Regions from separate parts of the Homo sapiens genome. Here all the other regions are linked to region 2. The links are contacts of gene promoters, found by promoter capture Hi-C in blood cells and fetal thymus (Javierre and others, 2016). All regions are on one chromosome and are shown on one strand. Each heading gives the region's core, a stretch centred on a gene start or on the middle of the fragment in contact. The rest is flanking DNA. Distances are from core to core; before and after follow the strand shown. Region 1 overlaps ANKRD17 (ankyrin repeat domain 17). Region 2 holds the start of PF4V1 (platelet factor 4 variant 1). Region 3 overlaps ANKRD17-DT (ANKRD17 divergent transcript). Region 4 overlaps ANKRD17 (ankyrin repeat domain 17).

Region 1 (2,855 bases), core at 39-2,538, 760 kb before region 2:
TAAAAATTCATGACTGGGAGTGGTGGCTCATGCCTGTAATCCCAGCACTTTGGGAGGCCAAGGCAGGCAGATCACTTTATGTCAGGAGTTCGAGACCAGCCTGGCCAACATAGTGAAATCCTGTCTCTACTGAAAAAAATACAAAAATTAGCCAGGCATGGTGGTGTGCACCTGTAATCCCAGCTACTCAGGAGGCTGAGGCAGGAGAATCACTTGAATCCGGGAGATGGAGGTTGCTGTGGACTGAGATTGCACCACTGCACTCCAGCCTGGGTGACAGAGTGAAACTCCTTCTCAGGAAAAAAGAAAAAATATTCATTACTTCCCTGTATTCTTATAGTAGCATTAAAATGACCATCCACAAATATGAAAACTTTCTAAAAATCTTTAATAATGTCCGGAAAAAGAAAATCCTACTAGAATTTAAAAAGCAAAATCTGAGGCCGGGCACGGTGGCTCACGCCTGTAATCCCAGCACTTTGGGAAGCCAAGGTGGGTGGTCCACCTGAGGTCAGGAGTTCAAGACCAGCCTGGCCAACATGGTGAAATCTCATCTCTACTAAAAATACAAAAAATTACCCGGGCATGGTGGCATGCACCTGTAATCCCAGCTACTCGGGAGGCAGAGGCAGGAGAATCACTTCAACCTGGGAGGCAGAGGTTGCAGCAAGCCGAGATCACGCCATTGCATTCTAGCCTGGGCAACAAGAGTAAAACTCCATCTCAAAAAAAAAAAAAAAAAAGCAATATCCATCTAATACTTGCAAAATTACATTTTAATTTTAAACATTCAGATATAGATTATAGATTTCCTTTATTATTATTTTTTTTTTGACAGAGTCTCGTTCTGTACCCAGGCTGGAATGCAGTGGTGTGATCATAGCTCACTGCAGCCTCAAACTCCTGGGCATAAGCAATCCTCCCACCTTTCCCAAGTAGCTGAGATTACAAGCACAAACCACATGCCCAGCTAATTTTTTAATTTTGTTTTTAGCAGAGATGGGGTCTTGCTATGTTGCCCAGGCTGGTCTTGAACTCATAGTCTCAAGTGATCCTCTTGTCTTGGCCTCCCAAAATGCTGGGATTATAGACATGAGCCACAGGTGTCAGGCCCGAATTCCTGATAAGCTGATTAAACAATATTTCTAAAAGAAATACAGTATAAAGTTCTCAATAAAGAGAAGCAGTCAAGTATAGTTCAATAAACAAGCAAATTATTTATTGAGAATGGTTAAGTATTAAAAATTGTCATATTTTCTAAAAGGAAGGGCATGATCCCTGTTCTCTATATATACAACTAAGTTACCTAACAACTCTTTTTAACCTAAAGAGCATGATAATCAGCCAGTGATCATCATTTCCAAACTGTATAACACAGTATTAAATGCATATACAAAAACCAAATTATCTTATTAGTGTATAGAGAATATTCTGATGATGTGATTTCAATTAATCCAATAGAGTGTGTATGTGAAGGAGTGAAAGAAAGAATGTGTGTATAGTGTGTGAAAATAGAGACAGAAATAAACATAGGTATGACGGGGACAAGATTTGGTCTAAAATACGGAGGAAATAAGCCAAAAACCTGTATACTGCACTTAGGGATTAACAGTAGTTACTAAGTTTGGTTCACTATAGCTTTTGTTTCAGATAACCAAAAGTTTAAATTTTTACGAAATTTCCGGAAAGTTCTTTAAAATAAGTTATCAAAGAGTGACAATGGATCACATTCTTTCTGGATTTCAGGTGTCTTACCTCCTTTTACGTTTCTGAGATATTGTATTTTTACTCTTGGATACATATTATTTTTAAAATCCCATGCAAAACAAAATATTTTTATCCTGAAACCCTTAAAATAAAGTTATCTTATGATTTAAAGACAACAGTTACTATGATTAGATCAACAGTTTAACATCAATACCTACTAATTCATCAAATGTTTACAAGTAGCTTTTATAATACTTCTTTGTATTATATAAGGCTTTGAGATAACGAAGCTGAGAAAGACACAATCTAAAATAGTTCTCAAAGCAAACTCCAATACTTTTGAGGGGCCAAATTAACACGTAATTTTTTTCATCTAAAATATGGCACAGGCTCTCTCTGTTGGTCAAATTTAGCCTTGAACCATCAGTTTGTTTGCAACCTTTAGAAGAGTAGGAGGAATTTAATTATAAGGTAGATAACACTTGACTGTGATATATAGCACATAAAAAGAATGACAAAAACAATTACTCACCTTCTTACAACTTCTTTCCATCCTTCTTCCCTCTTTTGCCCACGCTTAGGACTTGCTACTGTTAACTTCCCATTTGGAGAAGAAAGGGGAGATGGACCAGATTTTGTACAAGTAGATAGAGAATTACTGGTCCCTTCACTGATAGTTTCTGACAATCTTTAACAAAGAGAGGGAAAGTACATTAAATATGGAACAGATGTAGAATTTTTAAATGATAAAGGTAGTCTACTACCCAATTTTTAAAAATTTATTTTTAAATAACAAATGACGACCTTATTTTTCACTTCTCCTCATATTTAGCATATAATATAGAGAGCCTTTTTTTTTTTTTCTTTTTGAGACAGGTCTTGCTCTGTTACCCAGGCTGGAGCGCAACAGTGCAATCACAGCTCACTGCAGCCTTGAGCTCTCGGGTTCAGGTGATCCTTCTGCCTCAGCCTCCTGAGTAGCTGGGACCACAGGTGCATGCCATCACATTGGCTAATTAAAAAAAAAAATTATTTGTAGAGACAGGGTCTCCCTATGTTGTCCAGGCTGGTGTTGAACTCCTGGGCCCAAACAATCCTCCCACTTTGGCCTCCCAAAGAGCTATTATTATAAGCATGAGCCATTGCAC
Region 2 (2,902 bases), core at 331-2,830:
TCCAATTATATGCTCTAATTGCTCCAATTGAATAGACATAGGAACACGTCAAAGCCTCATCATCATCATTTTCAACACATTATCTTCACTACTGTAGCTACTTTGCACTGAGTCCCTACCAGTACATTGAAATAGTGATAAACGTTATGATATCTAATGTCACAGTGTTTTCCATTTAAGAAACAAAACAATTTTAAACACTTTTAAATACACAGATACACATACACACACATATATATATATATATCTACAATATATGTGTGTGTATGTTTGTGTATTCTGTGAGAAATACGAAGAACAGAGTTCTGCAAGATAGAACAACAAGGGAACACAATTATATATAGCTGTCAGGGAAGGCACACCTGAGGAAGTGATATTTAAGCTGACACCAGAAATATGAATAGGTCTTAGCCAGCTGAATAGGCAGGTGTAGGGAGAGTAGGAGAAAGAATTGCATATTCCTACAAAAATGCAGGTTTGCTGAGCATTAGAATATCAGCTAGTTCCATCCAGTGGGTCCCTGACACCCTTCACCACTGTTAGTCAGAGTGACAGGGAACCTTGGGCTTTGGGTTGAGGGTGTACCTTGCCCTGATCAAGAGCCAAAGTCATTCTTTTTTAGAGAAGAGAAAACGGTCGATATGGATCTCTTCCCCTTTCCCGTGTGGGATTCTGTTGCATCCCCTTCACTGTCACCTCCCATCATTCTCACACCCAACTCCCAGATGCCCTGAATCCTCCCACAGAGAGCATCACTGCTCCCTGCCAACAGTGCAGCCCATCTCACCCTGTCACTGGCAGTGACTGAGGACACAGCAGGCTCTGGAAGACATGGCCTGGCAAACTCTCCTTGTCCTCTCTTCTGGACTATTATTCAGGATTGAAACAATGAAGAAACATCCAGGAGCTAAGTTTTTATAAAAATAATGCATTCAAATATTACTTCTGCAATTTTTCTAAGAGTAACGGGAAATAGATCTTGCATCCTACAGTATACTGGGTGATTGTTGGTGGAGCCTGGTAAATCTCATCCAGAGACTAGGGAAGTTTTCCACATTCAGGTGAAATTCAGAAGAGTCATCACCTAGAGACCAAATTAAACTTATTAGTATTAGAAAACAATTGCAAATAGCACACTCTTCAAACACACAGCCATCAAACTCAATGGTAATCAAGACTGAAGTTAGGAGCATATGGGCAGTTCTTGAGTTGAGAAGGAAACAAGAACTGTCTGGGTCCTGAAGCCACCTGCTGTGTAAGTTGCTTGGTGACTACAGAGAACTCTACTATGATACAACACAGAAAATATTTCTCTTCTAAGATGCAAGTAGTGTTTCTAACTCCACAAATGTAAGTGTATATAAACTGAGGTTGGAGGTATGCATCTTTGTACCACCTCCTAGCCAAGGCAGCTGCCCCCAGCCTTTTGTTTTGTAATCTTGGCTGGCCAGAGTCTGAGTCTTCATAGCAGTGTCTTAGCTCCTGCACCACAGTTCCTCGCTGTCCACCCCAGGCTTCCGGACTGGAAGGACAGTGGGACAGTGACGGGGGATAAAAGAAGCCTGGTGAGGCCAGGAGTCACTGCCTGCAGAACCCCAGCCCGACTTTCCCTGCGCACTGGGATCCTGCTGGAACCTCAGCTGCAACATGAGCTCCGCAGCCAGGTCCCGCCTCACCCGCGCCACCCGCCAGGAGATGCTGTTCTTGGCGTTGCTGCTCCTGCCAGTTGTGGTCGCCTTCGCCAGAGGTGAGAGCAGAAACCAGGCTGGGAGGGCCAGCAGCGGCGAGGGGGAGTCCGGGAAGCCCTGGGGCTGGGGAGGAATCCTCTAGGATCATGATCGCAGCTGCTCTTATTGCGCGCGTGCTGAGTCTGCGGGTACAGTGCCAGGCACTGCACGTGCACCTCGCCACCTGATCAGCACAACCTCTGTCTGAGAGAGGTCTGATTTACGGCTAAGGAAAAGAAAGCTGAAGGTAGTGGAAAAGGTCCCTAAAGTATCTCTGGCTACTCAGGGAGTCACAACTCCCACCCCTCCTCCTCTCTTACTCCCTCCCTTTCCCCCTCAGCTGAAGCTGAAGAAGATGGGGACCTGCAGTGCCTGTGTGTGAAGACCACCTCCCAGGTCCGTCCCAGGCACATCACCAGCCTGGAGGTGATCAAGGCCGGACCCCACTGCCCCACTGCCCAACTCATGTGAGTCCTCGCACTGCATCAGTTAGTGCTCCCGCTCCGTGCCTCCTCTGCCCATCCCTCCCCCTTCTAATGCCATTTGCAAACCCAAGGACTGAAAGTCACGTCTCTTCTCTTTTCCCTGCCAGAGCCACGCTGAAGAATGGGAGGAAAATTTGCTTGGATCTGCAAGCCCTGCTGTACAAGAAAATCATTAAGGAACATTTGGAGAGTTAGCTACTAGCTGCCTAAGTGTGCACTTTCAATCTAACTGTGAAAGAATCTTCTGATGTTTGTATTATCCTTCTTATATTATATTAACGAAATAAATCAAGTTGTGGTATAGTCAATCTATTTCTTAATAATACTGCAAAAATAATGCTGACACATCACAATTTCATATTTTAAAATTTCCAGAATTTTAAGCAAAAAGCATTATGAAGGAAGGCTTGGTTTAATAAAGACTGATTTTGTTCAGTGTTATATGTTAGCTGATACATATTTGTTCATTTATGTGATTGCAGTACTTTATAGCTACATATTTACCTTGAATGTTACAATTAGCTTGCCAATAAATATTAGTAGCTCTTAAGCATTACTCGACAGCTTTTTTTTTTTTCAATGAAGTAAATAAGCAACACTCTGCTTTTATCCCCACAAATTCCTTAACATTGGTGATATTAAGATTCTGGGAACTAAGAGAAGTGTGAGGTAATATTTTCATTCATCCTT
Region 3 (2,700 bases), core at 143-2,642, 520 kb before region 2:
GATGGAACTGGAGGTCATTATGCCAAGTGAAATAAGCCAGGCACAGAAAAGACAAACTTCACATGTTCTGATTTATTTGTGGGATCTAAGAATCAAAACAATTGAATTCACGGACATAGAGAGTAGAAGGATGGTTACCAGAGGCTGGGAAAAGTAGTGGGGGGCTGGGGACAATGGTTAATGGGTACAGAAAAAATAGAAAGAGTTAGACCTAGTAATCGATAGCACAATAGGGTCACTTTTTATAGTCAATAATAACTCGATAGTACATTAAAAATAATAAAAAGAATATAATTGGATTGTTTATAACACAAAGGATAAATTCTTGAGGGGATGGATACCCCATTTTACATGATGTGATTATTAAACATTGCATGCCTGCATTAAAACATCTCATGTACCCCATAATTGTATACACTTACTATGTACCCACAAAAATTAAAATTAAATATTAAAAAGAAATTTCTGCCTTGAATTACTGAATGGTTCTTCTAAGTAAAAATGGATATTTTTCAAAAGAAATTAATTATTACAATATTGCATGCCTACCCCCAAATGGCAATATTCCTTGGCAATTCTTAATTTCCAAAGATAAATTCAAGAGTAGGGCTTCTCCAGAAGTAATGTTTTGACTATATATTGCTTTTTGTCATTTTAAGCCTGGTTAAAGAAGCTAAAAAGTGTCTAAGTTTATCCATACTTCATTTATGGCACAAGAACATTGATTCATTTTTCTCTCTGCTCACTGTAGCAAAGAGAACCTGAAAGTAAGTTCTCTTTGCCTATGGCAGTGACTTATTCCCATGAACTTATGTCTTTAATATCATCAAGGTAATCTTTGCAGCAGTTTTACTACTTTATATGCTTTTCTTTTGTTTGTTCACTAACTTTCTTGTTTTTGAAACCAATTATGTCTTAAATATGTTTCTGAGGAGCAGCTACATGAGGCTTTAGAGACTTGCAGTTTTCATATTTATGTCTGACCTAAGATTTTGTCTCGGCATCATCACATGCCCCTGTGCTTCTGTGTGCAAAGTAAAATATTCCTGAATGACCATCACAAGTAAATTTATTATGGTTTTTAAAGATATAATTCACATGCCATATGATTCACCCACTTAAAGTGTACAATTCAAGGGTTTTTAGTATATTCACAGAGTTATGCATCCATCAACACAATTTTAGTACATTGTCATTACCCCCTCCAAAAAACCCACATTCCCTAGCCATCACCCTACAATCTCCTTTTCCTCTCCAGCATCAGGCAACTGCCAATCTACTTTCTGTAATTTTCCCACTCTTGAAAATTCATATAAATGAAATCATGGAATATGTGGTCCTTTGTGATAGGTTTTTCACTTAACGTGTTTTCAAGGTTTATGCATGTAGTGGCATGTATCATTACTTCATTTCTTTTTATTATTAAACAATATTTCATTGTATAAATATACTACATTTTGTTTATCCGTTCATCAATTGATGGACATTTGGGTGGTTTCTCTTTTATGCTATTATGAATACTGCTGCTATGAACATTTGTGTGTGCGTTTTTGTGTAGATACGTTTTTATTTTTCTTGGGTATATACCTAGGAGTGGAATTGCTGGATCATGTGGTAACTCTGTTTAACCCTTTGAGAAACTGTCAGACTATTTTCCAAAGTGGCTACCACCATTTTACAGTCCCATGAGCAATATATGAGAATTTGAATATCTCCACATTCTTGCTAACATTTGTTATTGTCTATCTTTTTTCAGGTAGTCATCTTATTGGGTGTGAAATGACATCTGGTGGTTTTGATTTTCATTTCCCTGGTGGCTAATAATGTTGATCATCTTTTCAAGTGCTTATTGACCATTTGTATATCCTTTTTGGAGAACTATCTATTCACTTCCTTTGCCCATTTTTAAATTGGGCTATTGTATTAGTCCATTTTCATGCTGCTGATAAAGACATACCTGAGACTGGGAAGAAAAAGAGGTTTAATTAGGAACTTACAGTTCCACATGGCTGGGGAGGCCTCAGAATCATGGCGAGGGATAAAAGGCACTTCTTACATGGTGGCGGCAAGAGAAAAATGACAAAGATGTAAAAGGGGAAATCCTGATAAAACCATCAGATCTCATGAGACTTATTAACCTACCACAAGAACAGTATGGGAGAAACTGCCCCCATGATTCAAATTATCTTCCACTGGGTCCCTCTCACCGCATGTGGGAATTATGGGATTACAATTCAAGATGAGATTTGGGTGGGGACACAGAGCCAAACCATATCATTCCACCCCTGGCCCCTCCAAATCTCATGTCCTCACATTTCAAAACTAATCACGCCTTCCCAACAGTCCCCCAAAGTCTTAACTCATTTTAGCATTAACCCAGAAGTCCACAGTAAAAAGTCTCATCTGAGACAAGACAAGTCCCTTCTGCCTATGAGCCTGTAAAATCAAAAGCAAGCTAGTTACTTCCTAGATACAATGGGGGTACAGGTATTGGGTAAATACAGTTGTTCCAAATGGGAGAAATTGGCCAAAACAAAACAGTTACAGGGCCCATGCAAGTCCAAAATCCAGTGGGGCAGTCAAATTTTAAAGCTCCAAAATAATCTCCTTTGACTCCAGGTCTCACATCCAGGTCACACTGATGCAAGAGGGCCCAACCCCACGCAGAGAGCCAACCCCACATTTCCCTTCTGCACTGTC
Region 4 (2,874 bases), core at 1-2,500, 740 kb before region 2:
TTTTAGACTGCATGTTTCTAAACTTTTCTCTAAATGAATAGCTCAAATGCCACTTGCATCATTCCCTAAGGATCTCTCTAATACTTCTACAGTGTTTAAACTATTTACATGGGACAACTCAAACAGTTACCTAACTTTGGGTATGGATCTTACCTTTCCATATTGTACCCTATATAACATAGTATATGTTATATATACATATATAGACAATATGTATATACATATATAGACAATGTATATAGACATATATACACAACATATACTATGTTGCACCCTATATAATATAGTACTCTAGCCCACAGTTGCACATGTTAGGTACTCAAGAAATAATGGAACAAATACATAAGAGTATAAAAGATAAGCACTGCTCAACTGAAGTCAATAAGTCTATCTGGAAAGATATATGCATGTTAGATACTAGAGTAATAACTAATAAAAATAACAACTCTAATAGTTAGAGTAATAACATATAAAAATATGTATTTCTCCAAATGAATGATAAACACTGTCAAACTTGTACGACCTCTAGAGATTAGAGATCTCGATGTGAACTCAAATAGGATGAAGAGTTTGGTAGGAGAGACTTCAACTATAACTAAAGAATGAGTAACTTTGGAAAAATGAAGAAAGACATGGGCATTCTATGAGATGAGAACAAAGGTGATGTGAGAGATAGGAACAAGGAAAAGACCAAGCAAGAAGATAATTCTCCACATTAAGGATTCTAATGGGAGATAAGATCTACAAGCACTAAATTGTGGTGGCTGTGAATACCAAACTAAGATTGGATTTCAAATGATTTCAGAAACTGGGGAGACACAGAAAGGTTCTTGAAGAGGTTCTCTAATATAGTAGAGTGGTTAGAAAGATTAACTTGATAATGATATGCTAGCTTGCTTGGAGAAGAGGCAGCTAGCCAGTGAGAAGGAATAAGTTGGATTGCTGAGAAACAAAAATATAGAGAGTCAAAAATACAGAGTCACTGGTAGTCCAGATTATCTAGGGAAGAGGTAGAATAAAGAACAGCGGTCAGAGATAATAAGAGAAAAAGGAAGAAATAGCTTATTGTGATTTATTTATTAAAAATTTTCAACATTTTGGCATCTACAGGGAATTTTATCTACATATCTCCAAATGACAAAACTCAAAATTATAATCCCTGTAACAGTAATCTGATATTCCCAATAACAAACTAAAGCTGGATTTAAGAGATCAATGGATTATCAAACAAACCATTAAATCAAATTACTTACACACAGCTCTGTGCTATGTACAGAAAGAGAAAGTTTGTTTTACTTTCACGGAATTTGTATTTTTACCTTTAAATGTAATATACTTGAAACTTAGTAGTTTAAAATGCTGGTAGTGGCATTTTCATTATTTAATTCATTTTTTTTCCTAGTAAAGTCAATAATTGAAATGAAAACAAATTTTTTTTGAGACGGGGTCGTACTCTTGTCACCCGGGCTGGAGTGCGGTGGTGCAATCTCAGCTCACTGCAACCTTTGCCTCTCAGGCTCAAGCCATCCTCCTATCTCAGCCTCCTGAGTAGCTGGGACTATTAGCACATGTCACCACGCTCGGCTAATTTTTATAATTTTTGTAGAGGCAGGGCTTCGCTACATCTGCCTGCCTTGGCCTCCCAAAGTGCTGAGATTACAGGCATGAGCCACCATGCGTGGCACAACCCCCGCCCCCAGCAAAATAACCAGTTTAAGTGATATTTTTCTCTGTAGTGGTAATACAAGAAAACACTCACTAAGAGTAACTAACTGGAGGTACTTACTTAAGTATCTTAACTGGATTTACACTTTGTGAAGATTAAGACTGCAACTAGATTTTGAACACATTACTTAGAACAGCTTTTTAAAAGTTTACTTAGCTCTGATGTCCAATAAGGTTAAAATTAATGGCTTTTCTGAAAAACCTGTATATATCTACATTTAATGTTGCCATAAGAGTAATTATTTGCATATTATTGCTTTCATCACAGCTGCAAAAGCACAAAATGAGTCTTTAGTGATCACTAAGCCATGTACTTCCTAGTGTAAGTAAAAAAACATCCAGGTAAATGAGGATGAAAGACTTATACCTTTCTAAATGCTGCCATAAGAGGAGTTATCTTGCGGTTATCTGCTGCATCCACATCTGCACCTGCTTGCACCAGTAACTGAACCACATCGAGGTGTCCACCATTTGCTGCTAGCCACAATGGAGTGTTCCCCTTCTTGTTACGTACATCAATATGAGCTCCCCTAAAAACCAATGACACAGATAGCATTGTCTTTTTTTTTTTTTTTTTTTTTTTTGATACAGGGTCTTGCTCTGTCACACAGGCTGGAGTGCAGTGGTGAGATCATGGCTCACTGCAGCCTCCACCTCCAGGGGTCATATGATTCTCCTACCTCAGCCTCCAGAGTAGCTGGGACTACAGTCCCATGCCACCACGCTCAGCTAATTTTTAAATTTCTTGTGGAGATGGAGTCTTCCTATGTTACCCAGGCTGGTCTCGAACTCCTGGGCTCAAGTAATCCTCCTGCCTCAACCTCTCAAAGTGCTGGAATTATAGGCATTGTCACCACACCTAGCCTAGCATTGTCTTAAATAGAATGAAATGACACAGTAACAAAAATCAACTATCAACATGTGAAAATATTCTGTAAAGATAAAAATTGTTTTCAATATTCAAAGATGTAAATATGTCTTGCTCTCAGAATTATACTACACAAACAATATCCTATGAGGCAACTGTAACCGTTTCAGATTATTTGTATTCATATACAATTTGACCATCCCTAATCTGAAATCCAGTATCTGAAGTCTGAAATGCTCCAAAGAGCATTTCCTTTGAGTGTCATAACAGGGCTCAAAAAG

The links. Contacts are between HindIII fragments. The CHiCAGO score rates a contact against its expected background, and 5 or more counts as called.
Region 1: a fragment that was not itself captured here is called in contact with the fragment with the promoter of PF4V1 in region 2 in 1 of 17 cell types (neutrophils); the score reaches 5.7 in neutrophils.
Region 3: a contact is called between a fragment that was not itself captured here and the fragment with the promoter of PF4V1 in region 2, in 1 of 17 cell types (fetal thymus). The highest score is 5.8, in fetal thymus.
Region 4: a contact is called between a fragment that was not itself captured here and the fragment with the promoter of PF4V1 in region 2, in 1 of 17 cell types (neutrophils). The highest score is 8.5, in neutrophils.

Annotation. Positions count from the first base shown.
Region 1 is chr4:73,094,878-73,097,732 of GRCh38, forward strand. It overlaps ANKRD17 (ankyrin repeat domain 17), which reads right to left. Exons shown (of 34, transcript NM_032217.5): 27 at 2,240-2,395. Among named protein-coding and RNA genes, the nearest start is that of COX18, 27 kb to the left of the region's middle. The HindIII fragment of the contact is 3,504 bases long and covers 1-2,855 here.
Region 2 is chr4:73,851,716-73,854,617 of GRCh38, forward strand. PF4V1 (platelet factor 4 variant 1) reads left to right here and starts at 1,581. Exons shown (of 3, transcript NM_002620.4): 1 at 1,581-1,747; 2 at 2,068-2,194; 3 at 2,320-2,768. The coding sequence starts at 1,648. The coding sequence ends at 2,407. The HindIII fragment of the contact is 5,836 bases long and covers 1-2,902 here.
Region 3 is chr4:73,336,704-73,339,403 of GRCh38, forward strand. The region is part of intron 3 of ANKRD17-DT (ANKRD17 divergent transcript); the gene reads left to right. Among named protein-coding and RNA genes, the nearest start is that of ALB, 66 kb to the right of the region's middle. RefSeq lists an enhancer at 2,383-2,700. The HindIII fragment of the contact is 6,759 bases long and covers 1-2,700 here.
Region 4 is chr4:73,116,596-73,119,469 of GRCh38, forward strand. It overlaps ANKRD17 (ankyrin repeat domain 17), which reads right to left. Exons shown (of 34, transcript NM_032217.5): 22 at 2,093-2,255. Among named protein-coding and RNA genes, the nearest start is that of COX18, 48 kb to the left of the region's middle. The HindIII fragment of the contact is 7,075 bases long and covers 1-2,874 here.